Linked DNA regions of Homo sapiens: all the other regions are linked to region 1. The links are contacts of gene promoters, found by promoter capture Hi-C in blood cells and fetal thymus (Javierre and others, 2016). All regions are on one chromosome and are shown on one strand. Each heading gives the region's core, a stretch centred on a gene start or on the middle of the fragment in contact. The rest is flanking DNA. Distances are from core to core; before and after follow the strand shown.

Evidence for each region. Contacts are between HindIII fragments. The CHiCAGO score rates a contact against its expected background, and 5 or more counts as called.
Region 2: a contact is called between the fragment with the promoter of GLIS2 here and the fragment with the promoter of GLYR1 in region 1, in 2 of 17 cell types (total B cells and neutrophils). The highest score is 6.5, in total B cells.
Region 3: a contact is called between a fragment that was not itself captured here and the fragment with the promoter of GLYR1 in region 1, in 1 of 17 cell types (neutrophils). The highest score is 5.3, in neutrophils.
Region 4: a contact is called between the fragment with the promoter of TFAP4 here and the fragment with the promoter of GLYR1 in region 1, in 6 of 17 cell types (fetal thymus, naive CD8 T cells, naive B cells and 3 more). The highest score is 9.2, in fetal thymus.

The regions. Positions count from the first base shown.
Region 1 is chr16:4,845,434-4,849,435 of GRCh38, reverse strand. It overlaps GLYR1 (glyoxylate reductase 1 homolog), which reads left to right and starts at 2,148. Exons shown (of 16, transcript NM_032569.4): 1 at 2,148-2,208; 2 at 3,226-3,262. The coding sequence starts at 2,171. UBN1 (ubinuclein 1) reads right to left here and starts at 1,955. Exons shown (of 18, transcript NM_001079514.3): 1 at 1,226-1,955. RefSeq lists silencers at 1,275-1,364, 1,375-2,094 and enhancers at 1,147-1,989, 2,285-2,344, 2,645-2,704. The HindIII fragment of the contact is 6,120 bases long and covers 1-3,105 here.
Region 2 is chr16:4,314,780-4,319,021 of GRCh38, reverse strand. GLIS2 (GLIS family zinc finger 2) reads right to left here and starts at 2,955. Exons shown (of 7, transcript NM_032575.3): 1 at 2,768-2,955. RefSeq lists enhancers at 393-1,042, 1,043-1,693, 3,815-4,242 and a silencer at 4,120-4,242. The HindIII fragment of the contact is 6,668 bases long and covers 523-4,242 here.
Region 3 is chr16:4,293,233-4,297,348 of GRCh38, reverse strand. No RefSeq gene overlaps it. Among named protein-coding and RNA genes, the nearest start is that of GLIS2, 21 kb to the left of the region's middle. RefSeq lists enhancers at 1-614, 2,254-2,913. The HindIII fragment of the contact is 3,103 bases long and covers 1-2,863 here.
Region 4 is chr16:4,270,618-4,275,005 of GRCh38, reverse strand. It overlaps TFAP4 (transcription factor AP-4), which reads left to right and starts at 1,983. Exons shown (of 7, transcript NM_003223.3): 1 at 1,983-2,348. The coding sequence starts at 2,260. RefSeq lists silencers at 1,039-1,688, 2,409-2,458, 2,819-2,978 and enhancers at 837-1,812, 2,109-2,158, 3,059-3,248, 2,790-3,766. The HindIII fragment of the contact is 8,835 bases long and covers 1-3,397 here.

The DNA.
Region 1 (4,002 bases), core at 899-3,398:
AACAGAAAAACTAAATTGTGCATTCCAACTTATAATGAGTACCCTTCCTGAATTCTTATTTTAATGGGTTTTTTGGTTTTTGTTTTTGTTTTCAAAATAGGCAGACCTATCATCCACGGAAATGAGAATTCTGTCTTCCCTTTTCCAAAAATTGCATTTCTTATTTTTGTTTCCTGTCTTACTGCACTGGCTAGAACTTTCAGGTTTTAGGCAATATATTCTTATTATCTAATAGTGGTAGAAATGTACCATGTTTCTGATGTTAAGGGGAATGCCTCTAGGTTTTGGTGCAATGTTCATTTGAGATTTTTTTTTCTTTTTTCTTTTTGGCGGGGGGACGAGTCTCGCTCGCTCTGTCGCCTAGCTGGAGTGCAGTGACATAATCTCGGCTCACGGCAACCTCCGCTTCCCGGGTTAAGCGATTCTCCTGCCTCAGCCTCCCAAGTAGCTGGGACTACAGGCATGCGCCACCACGCCCGGCTAATTTTGTATTTTTAGTAGAGTACTGGGTTTGACCGTGTTGGCCAGGCTGGTCTCGAACTCCTGATCTCAGGTGGTCCACCCGCCTCGGCATCCCAAAATGCTGGGATTACAGGCTTATACCACCCTGCCCGGCCAAGATTCATGTTTTTATTTAAGTTATTAAAATCTCATTCAATTCCTCACAAATTCAGAATTTTTAAACAGGAACTTATGTTAAATTTTTATCAAATTATTCCCTGGAATCTTAAATACGCTTTAAAGATCACTTTGTCTTAAAAATACACACGCAGTAAATGACAGTCCGTGCAGCTAATTCTTGGTACTTCAGGGAAACTGATCTCCCAAGAAAAATCAGGCTGCGGGACGACCCAGTACGCTAAACACCGACTTGCAACCGAAATCTCTAACCACCACAATGCCTTGGGGAAATGCGTGTCGACTCGCCACCTTTGCCAGCTGGCAGTGACTCAACAAGAGCCCGACACCAAGTCTAAGTCAATCCTTAACACTGTGGAGTCTGTGATCGGGACTGGGATCTTTTGCAAAATTGTGATTCTACCTGGTCTGCTGAAGTTTGGGCCGACGCTGCGCTCAACTGCAGTTAACACTTCCCAGTTCATGGTTCAGTTTTAAAGTGTCCAAACTACGCCCGGCATCTGTCTTCCTGTTGTCACAACTTTTTCAAAAGTGCAAAACTAGGGCAAGGCTAACGAGAGAGCCCGGACCCGACAACGACACGCACCTTTGTCCCCAGCGCCGACGCGGGCCGCAGACGTCCCCCCGCGGCGGTCCTCATGCCGGTCCCCGGGCGGCGGCGCAGCTAGCGGTCGGCTGCTAAGCCGTGGCTCCCAGCGGGCGGGCGGCCCGCGCCTCGGCCCATGGCCGGGTCCCCGAGCCCAGGGGAGCCTGGTGTGCCGCGCCGCGCGCCGGCCCAGGAGGAAGCGAAGAAATGCCAACTCGACGTCCGCGCAGCCACTCCGGGGACACCAGGGGGTCGGGGGAGCAGCCTCCGGTCGCCCCAGGAGAACTTGCGGCGCGGGACCCCGCGCTCAGACGGCGCCTCCGAAAGCGGCCGTCGGGAGGAGCGCTCCAAAGAACACGGGCGGCGGGAGCGGACGGGCGCGGACACCGGGGCCTCCCGGCCTGCGGCCAAGCAGAGTTGCCGGGCGCGGGAGCCCAGACCCGGCGGAGGCTGAGTTCCAGGCCGCGCCGAGCTCCGTCAGGGTAGCTCACTGGCGCTGCGACGGGGCCGACCAGCGCCTCGGGCTCGGGAATGGCCCCGGGGCCCGCGCCGGACCAACGGGCGTAACGGAAGCGCCGAGAGGGGAGGGGCGCGGAGTCCAAGACCCGGGGGCGGGGCGAGCCGCGAGGCCGGCTCCCTCTCGCGCTCAGCCGGTCGCACCGTCGCCGCCGCCGCCGCCTCAGACCGCGGGCGCTTCGTTGTCACGAGCCGAAGGGAGGGGGAAGGAGCCGGGAGTCTCTGCGCTCCGGCGCGCGGAGACCGCGGCGCTCGCGTCACGTGCCCCTCGGTCGACCAATGATCCCCGGCGGGCGCGGTGACGTCAGAGTAGCGGCGTGGCCAGTGACAGCCGGCCCCCGTCACGTGGTCGGGCCCACTCCAATGGGCGGCGCCGGGGCGACTTGCTGTTCCCGGCGGCCCGTGCGTCGGCGGTGGTTGGGTGGTAAGATGGCGGCTGTGAGTCTGCGGCTCGGCGACTTGGTGTGGTGAGTCCGAGCGGCCGGGCCAACCGAGACGCGCCGGGGAGCTACCCGCCTGGGCGCGGGGTTCGCTGCCGGCCCTGGAGCTGCCTTTTTATGCGCTCCAGGTCGCGGAGAGAGGGGAAGAGAAGGTGCCGGCGCTTGCGAGCGGCGCCAGGCGGAAGGGGCAGTCCAGTCCCGGGGGACCGAGGCCGAGGGTGGCCACGTCGGGCACCGGCTTTGATCCCCGAGGCCGGCCGGGTGGGGTCTGCACTCGGGGCCCAGATACTGGCGGCCCCCGTGAAGGGAGCCGCCGGTGCCGCGAGGCTTCCCCGGACGACCGGTCCCCGGGGTCTTGTTGGGGCTTCCCAGAAAGCAGAAGCGCCGGGGACCGGACCTGCGAGATCTGGCCGGTGCCATTCGGTCAAAGCCCAGGTTGCGATGCAGCCGACCTGTGCGGCCGGCTCAGCCGGGGTTGTCTAAACCGGACTGCTGGCGTTGCCCCGCGAAGAAACGGCGGGGGGACTTCTCCTTTACAACCGATGGCTTGGCAGTGACCAGTGCACGCTTGGGTGCCTCCCGCGGTCTGCTTCTGTGTCCCAGACAACCGCCCGAACCAAGACTTTGTCGCCGCCTCCCTCGAGCTGCGTAGCTTGTTTCTCCACCCAGAGGAAGGCTTCCATTAGCATTTGTCAAAGCCAGGCAGGTCTCCTGTTGAATTAAACCAGACTTAGGGAGGGAAAGTCTGTGTTTACAGAGGAAGCTGTCCTCCCACCCCCGTCATTAAGAAGCTCTAGACAAGTGACTTTTGACAGTTGTGTTGTTCTGTATTCCTTGTCAACAGAAGAATGGATATGCGTTGTGCACATAAGTATACAATTTTGCATTTTACTTCTGAGGGTGTTGGGCCCAGCTATGAAAGCTTTTGTTTCGGCATTTGAGGATGCCAGCAGAGATTTAGGAAAATAAATTGCGTATTGAGTGGGTTGAAGGAGATGGACTGGCTTTTGCAGGGCAAGTGTTGACTCTTTGTGTTTTCTCTAGGGGGAAACTCGGCCGATATCCTCCTTGGCCAGGAAAGGTGAGTGTCTTGCTACTAAAGGAAGAGATCTGAAGTTGGGTTTGAAGAGGTGGAGAATGTAAGATGCATTCCTCTCAGTTTCTAGTATTGAGTTAAATTGGGCTCATTCAGATGGCACTTAGAATTTTTTTTCCCCTAGTATCGGTTATTTTTTAAAAGGCAATGCAGTATACACCAGATCATTAAATCTTCTCTAAACCCTTATTTCTGGATTTAGAGGAGGTTTATGAAGTTTCTTTTTTAACCCCGGAAATAATTCTAGTCTGAATTTAGCTTTATGCTTAAATGTAACAAAAGGAGAAGAAAATATAAATTATCCAGGAAGAAAGTCTAAATGTAGGTTAGTGAAAAGCCAAAGTATTTTTGTCCCAACTAAGTTTAAATCTTCTTTCCATGTTACCATATGTGCTACTCCAGTGCCTCTTTGCAGAAGTTGGCATTCCAGATTTTGCATGAGGTGATCCATCATTGCTTTCCAAATGTTGTGTTTTTATATTCTTGCTTGGAGCCCGGGAGGTGTCTTTAGATGGTCTCTTTGCAATATGGTGTTTTCTGTGCCTCGGTTGTCCTTTGTTTTCACTATGTCCTGTGTCAACCCTTCCTGCACAGGAAGTATTTCAAAGAGTGTCGTCTGCATTTTTTCAGTAATAATGGGGTCACATTGGAGCAGGGGTGGGGTGGTGGGGGGCAGGGGATGCTGTTGATCTTAGTTTTAACTGCTTGTAAAACAGGGCCACTGC
Region 2 (4,242 bases), core at 1,706-4,205, 530 kb after region 1:
GGCGACCCACAAAAGTGCCTCCCCAGGAGCCCCCCCAAGATGCCCCACAAGAGCTCCACATCTGGTCCCCCAGTCACAGCTGTCGCCACCCTCCCTCATCCAGAGATTGCCCCAAACCCTGGCCGGCACTGGCCCTCACCCCCTGGTCCAAGTGGGGAATTCAGATTCCAGGCGAGTGGAGCGGGTGGCTAGAAATACACATGGGAAATTGTTGCCGGGAAAACACATTCTTCCTCCTATATGGCTGCCCAGACCCTGAGAGGATTAGGTGGTGAGAGGACACTCCCACCGCCCGGGGCCAAGGCCAGGCCGGGAAGGAGGGTGGAGGGGAGAGTGGGGGCCTTGGAAATGGGGTCCAGGCCTCCCTCCAGGCCCCAAGAAGGGGCCCTGGGAGACCTTTGTTTTCCCTCCGGCCTGTTCACTCTCAGCCCTCTACTTGTCCTCCCTGCAAGGGGAGTTCAGGCGGGGGAAGAAATCGCTGTGGCTACCCAGTTGCAGCTGGGTTTCTCAGAAACAAAAGCTTTGGGGGGACGCGGTTCACACGATTGTTTGCAATGAGGTTTTGGGATGTCTGTGGCATCCAGTTATTCATCCGGGCTCCACCCTCGGATAATTGAGAGTTGGCTTTTGCTGGATTTACACCCTCTTTCCTCCCCCTGACCCCCCTCCACCCAGGCTTCTCATGGACTCTGGGAGCTCACCTGGTCTGACCCCTTGGTTTCATAGACAAGGCCGGGAGAGGGGAGGAGTCTGACCCAAGGACCACTGGAAGTTGGTGGTGGAGCCAAGACTTGAACCCAGGGCAGGAGACTCCCAGGCCAGGGGCTTTCCCCGGTCACCCTCCAAGCTGTGACTGGGCTCCAGCCAATCCCCAGAAGCCACTGACCCCAAAAGCAGCGGTGCCTGGAAGTGGGGTGACTCACTGTCTGGCTTCCCAGGGCACCCCCTCCCCATTGGTGAGGGAGGGACTGGCAGGTGTCCCTGTGTAGAGAGCCAGGAGCAAGGAGAGAACTCCCCAGGGGGCCTGGGCCAGGGTCACTCAGGGGCCGAAGAGCCCCAGCTGGAGGGATTTAACACCAAAGGTCAAAGGTCACAGACAGGGAAGGGCGGGCAGGCACAGGGGGTCAGCGCTAATGGCAGCTCCGGAAAGGAGGGGGAGGAGGAAAGGCTAAGAAAAACAGGGTTGCTTCCAAGGGGTCCGCACACCCCCCAAAACACCATCCCAAGTCCCTGGCACTGTCTCCTGCTTGGCTGGCTGCAGACAGGGCCAAGTTGAGCTGGAGGTGGGCAGTGAAATGGGCCAGGCTGGAGCTTGGCAAAGGGTGTCCTGGGAGGGGCCTCCCAGGTGCAGCCCCTCCCCCTGTGCAGGCCAGGCCAGCTAGGAGGCCCAGCCTGGGCTCTGGGGAGAAGGAGAAGCAGAGGGGGAGGTCCGAGGTCACCCGGGATGGGTGTGTGGGCTGGGCCTGGACAGCTGTGGCACTGTGGCACCAGAATGGGGCTTGGGGAGGGGTGACCCAAGGGGCCAGTTTCCCCTCCCCTGAGCCCGGGGGCTGGAAGGCCCTCCGAAGCGCAGTGTCTCTGGGCTTCCTCCCCAGCCGCAGGCTGGCCCCACCTTCCCTCCAGGATGCCAGGACACGCAGGATGGCGGCCTACTACCCAGGGTGCCAGCCTCCAAGAACCATGGCCCAGGCCCTTTCCATGGCCCAGACCAAGCCCAGGCCTTGGCCAGGTCCCCAGCCGGCCTGGCTGCCCCCTCAGTGTCAAGCGTTCCCTCCAGAGCCAAGATCCTGGGCTGTGATGGCTGGGGGCCCAGGGCCCCTCCCAGCATCCCTTCCAGCTTCCCAGGCCCCAGGGCAGGGCTGGGCAACTCCTTGAAACCATTGCTTCCCGGCCACCCTCTGGCCAGGCTGGGCGGGCCCTCCTGGACAGGCAGACAGGCTGCACGCTGCCCTGCTGTGGCCCGAGTACCCTGCTGGGCAGGGCAGCATGCCAAGGCCTCCAGGTGCCAGCCTGGATTCCAGCCCCATCCCAGGGGGCCAGCGGGGAAGCTGTGCGTGCTTCTCCTCCCTCGGGATGCACCTGCCTCGCCCCCTCCTCCACCCGCTCCAGACCCGCCCTCCGGCGAGTATGGACCCCTTGCCATCTCCTCCCTGCCAGGCCGGTCGCCTGCGTCCACCCGGACCGCAGGGGAGTAACAAGTGCCTGACTTGTCCCAAACTCCCAGTCCTGACCCCCCAGGGACGCCCCTTCCCGAGGTCCAAGGAAGGACCCGGGCTTGCGAGGGGCAGCAGGAGGGAGACTCTCCCGGCCAAGGGAGGAGGCACCTTCCAAAGCCCTTCCTAGCAGCAGCCCCGGCGCGGCCGAGAGGAGGGGCGGCTGCCCCGGACAACTTCATGCCCAGGCTCCGGGTACCCCCCTCTCACCTCGCCGCACGCCCCCCACCGCGGCCGCCCAACTTCCCAGCTGAAGTTTGCGCCCGCCCCGGGCCCGGGCGCTGCTCGGCCCGGCCTCCAGACGGAGGGAAGGAAGGAGGGAGAAGAAAGACCGAGAGCTCGAGGGACCCGGCCGGGGAGCCGGCGAGGGAGGGAGCGCGCGAGCCAGCGAGCGAGCGAACGCGGGGGCCTCGGCGAGGGCTCACAATGGCCCGGGGCGCGGACGCGAGCGGGGGAGGAGACCCTCGGGCCCCGCAGCCCCGGCGCGACAGGCGGGCCCCCCCCCCCCCGCCCCGGCCCGGTCCCCACGGCGCGACGCCCGGGGGGCTTCCTACCTCAGCGGCGGGGGCGGTCGGGATCCGGGCTGCGGGCTCCGGCGGTCGGGGGGCGCGGGGAGCCGAGCGGGGGAGGGGCCGGGACGGGCGGGGGCCGGGGCGCGAGGCCTCACGGGGCGCGGGCTCCCCTGGCACGGCCGCCCGGCGCCCGGCCGCTCCGCCACATCTGCAGCTCGGGCAGGGAAGGTGGCCGCGGCGGCCGGGCCGTGCGGGGATGTCTTAGAGGGAGGGCGGGCGGGCGGGAGGAGGGAGGAGGGAGGCGGCGGGAGGAGGGCCCGCCGGCCGCGGAGGAGGGCGAGGAGGAGGGGCGCGGGGGGCGGCCTCCACCCCTCCCCTCGCTCGCTCGCTCCCTCCCTCCCAGCAAAACCCCTCTCACCGCTGCGGCCCCAGGCCCGGGGCGCCAGCTGCCAGGCGGGGCGTGCGCGTCGGGGGAGGGGGCGGCGGGAGCCGGCGCTGGGCCGAGGGAGGGGGAAGGGAGGGCGGCGCGGCCGCGGGGAGCGGGCACCGGGAGGGAGGGGTGAGGGAGGGAAGTGGGGCGCCGAGCCGCGCGCGTCCTCCTCGGCCCCATCCTCACGCCACCCCCCCCCCGCGGCCCCGCCCCCGGCCCGAGGGCAGCGCTAGGACACGGCCGGGAGGTGGCCTGGGGGGGCGGGGGAGCCCGAGACGTCCCGCCCTCGGGGAAGCCCGAGGAGGGGGCCGGGCGCGCGGGCCCAGAGGAAAAGCCCCGCAGACCGGGAAGATGGAGGAGGTCGCGGCGGCGGAGCGGGCGGGGACCCCTCGCCTCCTCCCGCGGGGTCACCTTGGCCAGGCCCCCCTGCGGCCCCGGGCGGCGGGGAAGGCGGCAGGAATGCCTCTCTGCGGGCCCTGATTTCTCCGCCCAGCCCAGTTCCAGGAACGCGCAGGCAGCGCCCGGCGGGCAGAGGTCCCGGATCCCGATGCCGGGCGGCGCAAACCAGTTTTCGGGGCCCGGCGCAACCCCTCACGCTGGTGAGACGGCGGGCGACTCCCTGCCGTGCCCTCGGTCTCAGTTTCCCTCACGGTAGAATAACGACGAGGCCCGATGCCGAGCAATCCGAGCTTCCGCTTGGTTCCTAGCTTGGTCCCAGCATTTGGGACCACCTGCGTCCACTAGCCCGAGCGCCGCGGGAGGTCTAGATCCCTCCTGGACATCAGCACCCTGCGCGGCGCCCGCGGCCAGGGCAGCGAGTGCAGTGAGCGGATACACGCGAGGGAGAAGCCCCGCACCCGGCCCAGCTGTTTTCTGCCTCGTGTTGAACCACAGACTCGCGTTCTTGAGTGTGTTTTGTTTGGGCTAATCCCGTGCCCCCCGCCCTGTTATCTTCTTGCTGCTCTGCTGTATGCTGGCAAATTGTAGTTCAAAAAAACAGCCCTCCTGCTGTTGGACACCCCCTCTTCCCAGCGCAGTTGGCCTTGAGGAGCCTAGGAGACGAAAAAGGCATCCCAGAATCAGCATC
Region 3 (4,116 bases), core at 63-2,562, 550 kb after region 1:
TATTTGATTTCTCCTCCAGAGTCTTGGGGGCTCCACAGGAGAGATGGTGGAGGCGGGAGGAGCAAGAAAGGGGTGAGGTTAGAAGCCTGGTCCCAGCTGGGGCTGCAGCTGGGGGCCTGCAGGCTCTGGCCTGCCCTGGGAGGCCCTCCCTGTACCTGCAGCTGCATCTGGGGCCGGAGGAGGGGCCAGGCGTCCTTCCGCTCCAGGAGCTGCTGCCTGTCCCCCTCCCATGACACATGAGGACTGTGTCTGGTCGATTCACATTGGAGGGTCCCTGAATGAGCTTTGTCCATTAGAGGACCTGTATTCTTGTTCCTGGAACCTGGGAGTGGGTCAGAAGGGTGACTCACACCTGTAATCCCAGCACTTTGGGAGGCCAAGGTGGGTGGATTACCTGAGGTCAGGAGTTTGAGACCAGCCTGGCCAACATGACGAAACCCCATCTCTACTAAAAATATAAAAATTAGCTTGGCATGGTGGTGCGTGCCTGTAATCCCAACCACTCGGGAGGCTGAGACAGGAGAACTGCTTAAACCTGGGAGGCAGAGGTTGCAGTGAGCCGAAATTGCGCCATTGCACTCCAGCCTGGGTGACAAGAGTGAGACTCTGTCTCAAAAAATAAAAATAGGCCGGGCGCAGTCGCTCACGCCTGTAATCCCAGCACTTTGGGAGGCCGAGGCAGGCAAATCACAAGGTTAGGAGATCGAGAGCATCCTGGCTAACACAGTGAAACCCCATCTCTACTAAAAATACAAAAAATTAGCCAGGTGTGGTGGCGGGCGCCTGTAGTCCCAGCTACTCCAGAGGCTGAGGCAGGAGAATGGCGTGAACCCAGGAGGCAGAGCTTGCAGTGAGCCAAGTTCGCGCCACTGCACTCCAGCCTGGGTGACAGAGAGAGACTCTGTCTAAAATAAATAAATTAGTTAATAATAATAAAAATAAAAAATAAAATCAAGCTGGGAGCAGTGGCTCATGCTTGTAATCCCGGCACTTTGGGAGGCTGAGACCGGCAGATCACCTGAGGTCAGGAGTTCGAGACCAACCTGGCCAACATGGTGAACCCCGTCTCTACTAAAAATACAAAAATTTGGCCGGGCACAGTGGCTCACGCCTGTAATCCTAGCACTTTGGGAGGCCAAGGCGGGCGGATCATGAGTTGAGGAGATCGAGACCATCCTGGCTAACACGGTGAAACCCCAGACCCCATCTCTACTAAAAAAATTAGCCGGGTGTGGTGGTGGGTGCCTGTAGTTTCAGCTACTCGGGAGGCTGAGCCAGGAGAATCGCTTGAACCAGGGAGGTGGAGGTTGCAGTGAGCTGAGATCGCACCACTGTACTCCAGCCTGGGTGACAGAGTGAGACTCCATCTCAAAAAAAGATTAAAAAATAAAAATAAGATATAATTCACATACCGTAAAATTCACCTCTTTGAAGTGTACAATCAGTGGTTTTTAGTGTATTCAGAGTCGTGCAACCATCATCAACATCTAATTTCAGAACATTTTCACCATCCCAAAAAGAAACCCTATACTCAAGAAGCAGCCACTCCCCATTCCTCTTTCCTCCCAGGCCCTGGCAACGCACCAGCCTGTTTTCTGCCTCTATGGATTTCCCTATTCTGGGCATTTCAAATAAAGTGGTGGTCTCTTGTGATTGGCTTTTCACTTAATGTTTCAAGGTTCGTCTATATTGTAGCATAGATCAGCACCTTGTTCCTTTTTATTTTTGAGACACAGTCTCGCTCTGTCGCTCAGGCTGGAGTGCAATGGTGAAATCTCTGCTCATTGCAAGCTCTGCCTCCCAAGTTCAAGCGATACTTGTGCCTCAGCCTCTGGAGTAGCTGGGATTACAGGCGTGGACCACCACGCCCGGCTATTTTTGCTCGTTTTTAGTAGAGATGGAGTTTCGTCATGTTGGCCAGGCTGGTCTTAAACTCCTGACTTCAAGTGATCGGCCCGCCTCAGCCTCCCAAAATGCTGGGATTACAGGGCGGCATGAGCCACCACACCCGGCCTTTATCTGTCTGTCTGTCTGTCTGTCTATCTATCTATCTAATCTATCTATTTTTGAGACAGAGTCTCCCTCTGTCCCCCAGGCTGAAGTGCAATGGCACAATCTCATCTCACTGCAACCTCTGCCTCCTGGGTTCAAGTGATTCTCCTGCCTCAGTCTCCCAACTAGCTAGGATTACGGGCGCCCACCACCACCCCCAGCTGATTTTTGTATTTTGAGTAGAGATGGGGTTTCACCATATTGCCCAGGCTGCTCTCCAACTCCTGGCCTCAAGCAACCCGCCTGCCTTGGCCTCCCAAAGTGCTGTGATTACAGGCATGAGCCACCGTGCCCAGCTTTTTTTTTTTTTTTTTTTTTTGAGACAGAGTCCTGCTCTGTCACCCATTTTGGAGTGCAGTGGCATGATCTCAGCTCACTGCAACCTCCACCTCCCAGGTTCAAACGATTCTTCTGCCTCAGCCTCCCGCGTAGCTGGGACTACAGGCGTGCATCACCACGCCCAGCTAATTTTTGTATTTTTAGTAGAGACAGGGTTTCACCGTATTGGCCGGGCTGGTGTCCGACTCCTGACCTCAGGTGATCCGCTTGCCTTGGCCTCCCAAAGTGCTGGGATTACAGGTGTGAGCCACTGCGCCCGGCCTATTTTTTTTATTAAAAAAAAAAAAAGAGTATGGATAAGGCACTCGCGCTGTGCCTGGTACCTCTCACCTCTCTGGTTGGTGCTTATGCATCCCTGAGGTGCCTGTGCAAAGGCAGGCGGACACCCAGGCCCGTGGAGGGGGCAGCAGCCCTGCGACATTCCCTGCCCCCAAGCAGCAGGAGGCTCATTTATCCATTTATCAGGGAAGCTTCCTGTGCCTCAGCTTTCCCAAGGTGGGGAAGGGTGAAGTCGAGGCCAGGCCTCTGCGGTTGGGACACCCCGAGGGATCTCCCTGTCCTCCTCCTCGGTTCTCCAGGCCCCACTCTGCCACTGCCCCATCTCCCCACCTAGAGCTTCCTGCAGAGCCGGGCAGAGCCGGGTGCCTTCTCTGCTGGTTGCCTGGGCGCCTGTGCCCCTTCCCTAGATCTGCAGTAGGGAACTGCTTCCCGGTGGCCTAAGGGCTTGGACGCTGGCCATGACCATGGACACCCCCACCACCCTGAGAGGGTGCCATACCCCAGCCCGAGGCTGGAGGGCCAGCTGTACGGCAGGGCCATGGAAGGGAGGACCAGGCAGCCTCCTGTGGCTCCTGCCAGGGAAACCCTCTCTGCTCGCTGCTGCTCAGCCTTTCCCAGCCCTGCCCCTCTCGTCTTGCTTCTCACATTTCAGCCTCTGAGTTACTGGCACCACTGTCTGTTGCTGCTGTTGCTGCTGCTGCTGCTGAAGCCGGCACCAGCCAGACATTAACCCCTGATGCGCTGGCGGCCGCAGCTGCACAGCAGGAAAGGGGCACCAGGGGCTCAAGCTCTGGCGGGCTTGAGGGAGGAGAGAGCAATCCCAGAGCCGGTCCCTTTGCTGCCCCCGGTCCCCACTCCACAGTGCTTACTGCGCTTGCTTCTTCCTTGTCTGCACAGACTTGAAGCCAAAACCCTTTCTGACCCCTACGAGTTGCTCCTTCCTCTGACAGTCTGGCTCTGACCATCAGCCCACAGGAAGGGGCTACATTTCACCTGGTAGCTGACCTTGTCGTTTCATGCATGGCCATGTTTTCTCCCTCCGTATGCCTTGTCATGCCCAGCGGGACCCTCCTCTTGTACCCGGATTTACCTGGCCACGGTTGAGCCACCAGGACCAGGTAAGCTCTTGAGTTTTGAGGCCAACAGGAAGCCATTCTCCAGGGCAGCCACGGGGGGATCTGGAGGAGCCTGAAAGAAGTGCAGGCCCTGGTAGTGGCTGGCTGTGATGGGCTTGGCCAAGCCCCTTGGGCGTGATCATAGGACTCAGGGCACCATGGTGAGGATGAAACTAGGAGTGCAGGTGGGGCGCGGCGGCTCACGCCTGTAATCCCAGCACTTAGGGAGGCCGAGGCGGGCAGATCACCTGAGGTCAGGACTTCAAGACCAGCCTGGCCAACATAGTTAAACTCTGTCTCTACAAAAATACAAAAATTAGCAGGGCATGAT
Region 4 (4,388 bases), core at 734-3,233, 570 kb after region 1:
TGAGCCGAGATCGTGCCACTGCACTCTAGCCTGGGTGACAAAGCAAGACTCCGTCTTAAAAAACAAAACAAAACAAAACAAAAAAAAGAATAGCTTGCTCACTAAGGGCAGTTAAAAATAGGCTTCCCACCAGGGCCATCCATGGCTCATGCTTGTAATCCCAGCAATTTGGGAGGTAGAGGTAGGATTCCTTGAGTCCCAGGAGTTCAAGACCAGGCTGGGCAACACAGTGAGACTCCTATCTCTATTTGTTGAAAAACAGTAAAAAGGTTTTTTTTTTTTTTTTTTTTTGAGACGGAGTTTCACTCTTGTTGCCCAGGCTGGAGTGCAATGACATGATCTTGGCTCACTGCAACCTCCACCTCCCGGGTTCAAGCGATTCTCCTGCTTCAGCCTCCCGAGTAGCTGAGATTACAGGCATGTGCCACCAGGCCCCCGGCTAATTTTGCATTTTTAGTAGAGACGGGGTTTCTCCATGTTGGTCAGGCTGGTCTCGAACTCCCGACCTCAGGTGATCCACCCGCCTCAGCCTCCCAAAGTGCTGAGATTACAGGCGTGAGCCAACGCGCCCAGCCGAAAGTTTTTTTTTTTTTTTTTTTTTTTTAAGTAGAAACATAGTAAGCCTTCCAGAGACTTTTTTTTGGTCAAGTGGTCTGGGATCTCTCCTTAGAGAAACTGCCTAACAGGTTGCTTCAAGGATTGGAGAGCGTGTAAGCAAAACTGCTCGGCATCCACCGGGTGCTGGCAACATCTAATAACAATATTTCCCAATAATAACAGTAACTATTGTTACTAGTAGGAATAAGTCAAATTAGGAGGCGCGATTTAGGCGGAACCTGGAAGGCGGTGGGCAGGATCCAGGACATTCCAAGGCAGGCGTGGGCTTCCTGAGCCAGGAGCCAACCCTCCAGGAGCCAGGGGAGGGCCTGGGGCCGGAAGGTGCGGCGTGCGAGCGGAGGACGGAAGCTCGCCGCCAGGGTCCCCGTCCCTGCCCCAAGTCGTCACCCCCTCTTGGGGAGCGCATCCTGGCGGAGGGGCAAGTCCCACACGGGCTTTGTTATGAATGGGAAGCTGCAGCCTTCAGCCCGCGGAGGGAACAGTGCGGGTCTGGGGGAATAGCAGGGGACCCGGCAGCAACCAGCAGACCTCCCCGCAGCGCTGGCAGCCTGCGCCCGGGGGCCGCTGCCGTTCAGGCCCGCCTCCACCCTCCCCTCCCTGCCGGGGCCCCCGGCTTCCTAGGGCGGCCCCAGCATCCGAGGCGCCCTTTGCCGTCCCGTCGCCGGGTCCAAGATTCCCAGGATCCGGAGTCCCGGCCGTGCGGCCAGCTAAGCAAGGCGGGAGGGAGGAAGCTGGCCGGCCTCCGAAGTCAGCCCCGAGTTACATGTGGGAAGCGGTGGCTGTGACGCAAGTTTCCAGGGGGCCCTGGGCTCGGCTCGAAGGGAGCACACCGGAGAGGCTCCGCTCCGTGCAGCTGCAATGGTGAAAAAGCAGAAGCCCCAAGCGCGAACCCCAGGCCGCCTTCCTTGCTGCCGCTGCACGCCCGACCCAGCCGCGCCCCCTCCTCCCTGCGGGCCGGCCGAGCGCGCGGACCCTGCTCTGGGCCAGTCGCTGCTGGACTCCGGGCTGCACGGGCTGGGCTCCCTGCGCGGTGGCTGGCCTTTTTTTTTTTTTTTTTGCAACGCTTGCCAACCTGTCAGCTGATGGACCTCATCACCCATAGTGGCGCATGTAGCTCGGCCGCAGCTCGCTCCATTCACGCCGCGCCCCGCAAGCCCGCCCGCGGCCCCCGGCCCCCTGCGCCCCGCGAGAGGCCTGCAGACCCCGGTTGCAGCCGGTCCCCGGGGGCCCGCGCCCCTCTCGCCCCGGCCTCGCGCCGCCCGGGGGGCGCTGCAAATAGTCCTTTGTTTACATGCAATTCCTTACTCCGCGGAAGGAGGCCGGGGGAGTGCTGAGTTTTCACCAGCTGTTTCCCGCCTTGAAACAGACATCTGATCAGCTGCAAACACACACACACACACACACACACACACACACACACACACACACACACATACACACGCCCGGGGAGGCAGGCCGGAGAGACCTCCCTCCCGCCCCTCCCGCCCGCCTCCCTCCCCTCGCCGCCGCCGCCGCCGCCAGCATCTGGGACCGGCCGATTCTGCACCTCCGTCCGGCGCTGCCCTTTGATTCGGATTTCCATCTTGCATTCTCCGGCTGATCGCGGGACCTGGCTCGTGCAGAGGAGGGGGGCCGATCGCTATGGAGTATTTCATGGTGCCCACTCAGAAGGTGCCCTCTTTGCAACATTTCAGGAAAACAGAGAAAGAAGTGATAGGAGGGCTCTGTAGGTGTGTACTCCTCCTCCCCCCACCCCCTTCCTACCACTGCAGCCCCCGGCCAGCCCGCCCGGGCGGGCGCGCGTGTGCGCACGCATGGCCCGCGCCGCCGACCCCGCTAGCCTTTCTTAGCTGCCGGGACGGCTGCAGCCCCACACGCCGGGTCCGCGCCGCCCCGGGACCCTCCTTCCTTGGAGCATGGGGGCCCCAAGCGGCCCCGGCCACTTTTGTCCGCTGCAGGCGGGCGAGTCGCGACGTTTGTAAATTGCAAACAGACCCACGTGGTTCTGCAGCAGTCCCGGCCATGCTTGGTGCTGGTGGCCTTCCCCCCCGCGCTTCCTCTTTCCCCCTCCTGCGGCGGCTTCCTTCCTCTCCTTCCTTCCTCGGGATCTGAGGTCGTCCCCATCCAAGGGGGTCTGGGGGCCCGGGGCGCGCGTGGGGGTGTAGCTAGGGCGGCTACAATGCAGCCATGCCGCGGCTCCCGGCGCGGGGTGGGGGCGGGGAGCCGGGCACTGTGCGTGTTTGCAGAGCGGGGCTGCAGCGGGGTCGGGGGCGTGCTCGCGTGTGGGTGTTGGGGGTGGGCGGACCCCGAGGGGCCCGCGCGGCCGGTAGGGGCGCCGCGGCCCGGGGCACGTTGGCTGCCGCTCGCTCGCCCGCCCGCGCCCGGGCGCTGTTTACTAGCGAGGCCTGGACGTGACTCTGCAGCCCTCTTGGAGTAGGCGGACCTCTGCGCGCGGCCTCGCGGGAGCTGTAGTTCTCCGTGTCCTGCTGGTGCAGCATTGTGGGATTTGTAGGCGCTCCTGGGCCACGCTTTCCCTGCACAAAGCTCGGCCCCCGCGGGCACGATGGGCAAGGCAGGCCAGGTGGGCAGGCCATTTGGGGAAGGGACACCTGAGGCCGCCCCTAGCCTCGCAGGGCAGCTTCCCGCCGCACGTGGGTTTCCTCTGCAAACTTTCCCATCCAACGCCCCTCCCCCCTGCCGTAAACCGAAAGCGTCGGGTCCCCCAGCCGGGTGGGTGGCCCGAGGTCCGCAGGCCTCCCCAGAAGCCACTTTGCAAGCTTTGGTCCTAGGTTGCTCTAAACCCAAAGGGTGATGGACTCAAGGACCACACACAGCCAAACCACCCCGCACACTTCTTAAAATGCACATGCCTGGAACTCTGATCGCTGGGGCCCGGACATCTGCATTTTGAACGACCCCCTGGGCGTGGTGTGGGGGAGGTGGGCGTTCTACGGCGTGCGCAAGTTTGGGACCTGTGGCCCCTTTCCTGCCGCGCTGCTCCAGGAGCGAAATGGCTCCCCAGGGCTGGAGCCACGTGCTCTGCCGCCCGAGGCAGTCTGGGCGGGGATTGAGGGAGGAGGAGCCCGCCGGTGTGGCACAGGCTGGTGGACGCTAGCGCCTGCAGAATCCGGCCTGGAGGGAAGGTTGCTGCACACGTGTAGACACTCCTGCCCAACCCTCTGCCCCGGGGGTCCCCACCTTAAGGCTACTCTGAAGTTCCCAGTCAATACCTAGACTTGGGCCAGTTGATGGGTTTGGCAGCTGGCAGGGATGCCCCGAGGGCTGGCCCTTGCACGAGGCCCACCTGGAGGGCCCAGTAATAATAAGTAAAAAAAATTCTTGAGCTCTTTTTATGTTCTGGGGACTCACTTTGCTAGAATTTTCTCACTGAGTTGTCATAATCTTTCTATGAGTCAAAAGTGTCTTTTGATTCCGCTTAAAGAGGCGGACACAGAGACTGGAGAAGGGACCACTACAGCAGGTGGTGGAACTGGAACTTGAACCCTTGTCCTGGGGTTGCTGCTGCTGCAGGGCTGGGCTGGGCAGCGCGGAGGTGCAGTTGAGCCGCTGTGCCTACTGGAGAAGACATTCTGGGCCTGATCCTGGGCAGGGTTGGGGGGCCCTCTGGCTGCCATGCCTGGGCCTTGGGTGAGTCCTCTCAGGGCCCCCTGAGATTCTGGCTTCAATTTATCCCTGCCCCAAGCGTTCCTTTGGAGCATACCAGCAGTCCCCCAGGGTAGCTGGATCTTGGTAGGCCAAGGACTTGAAGG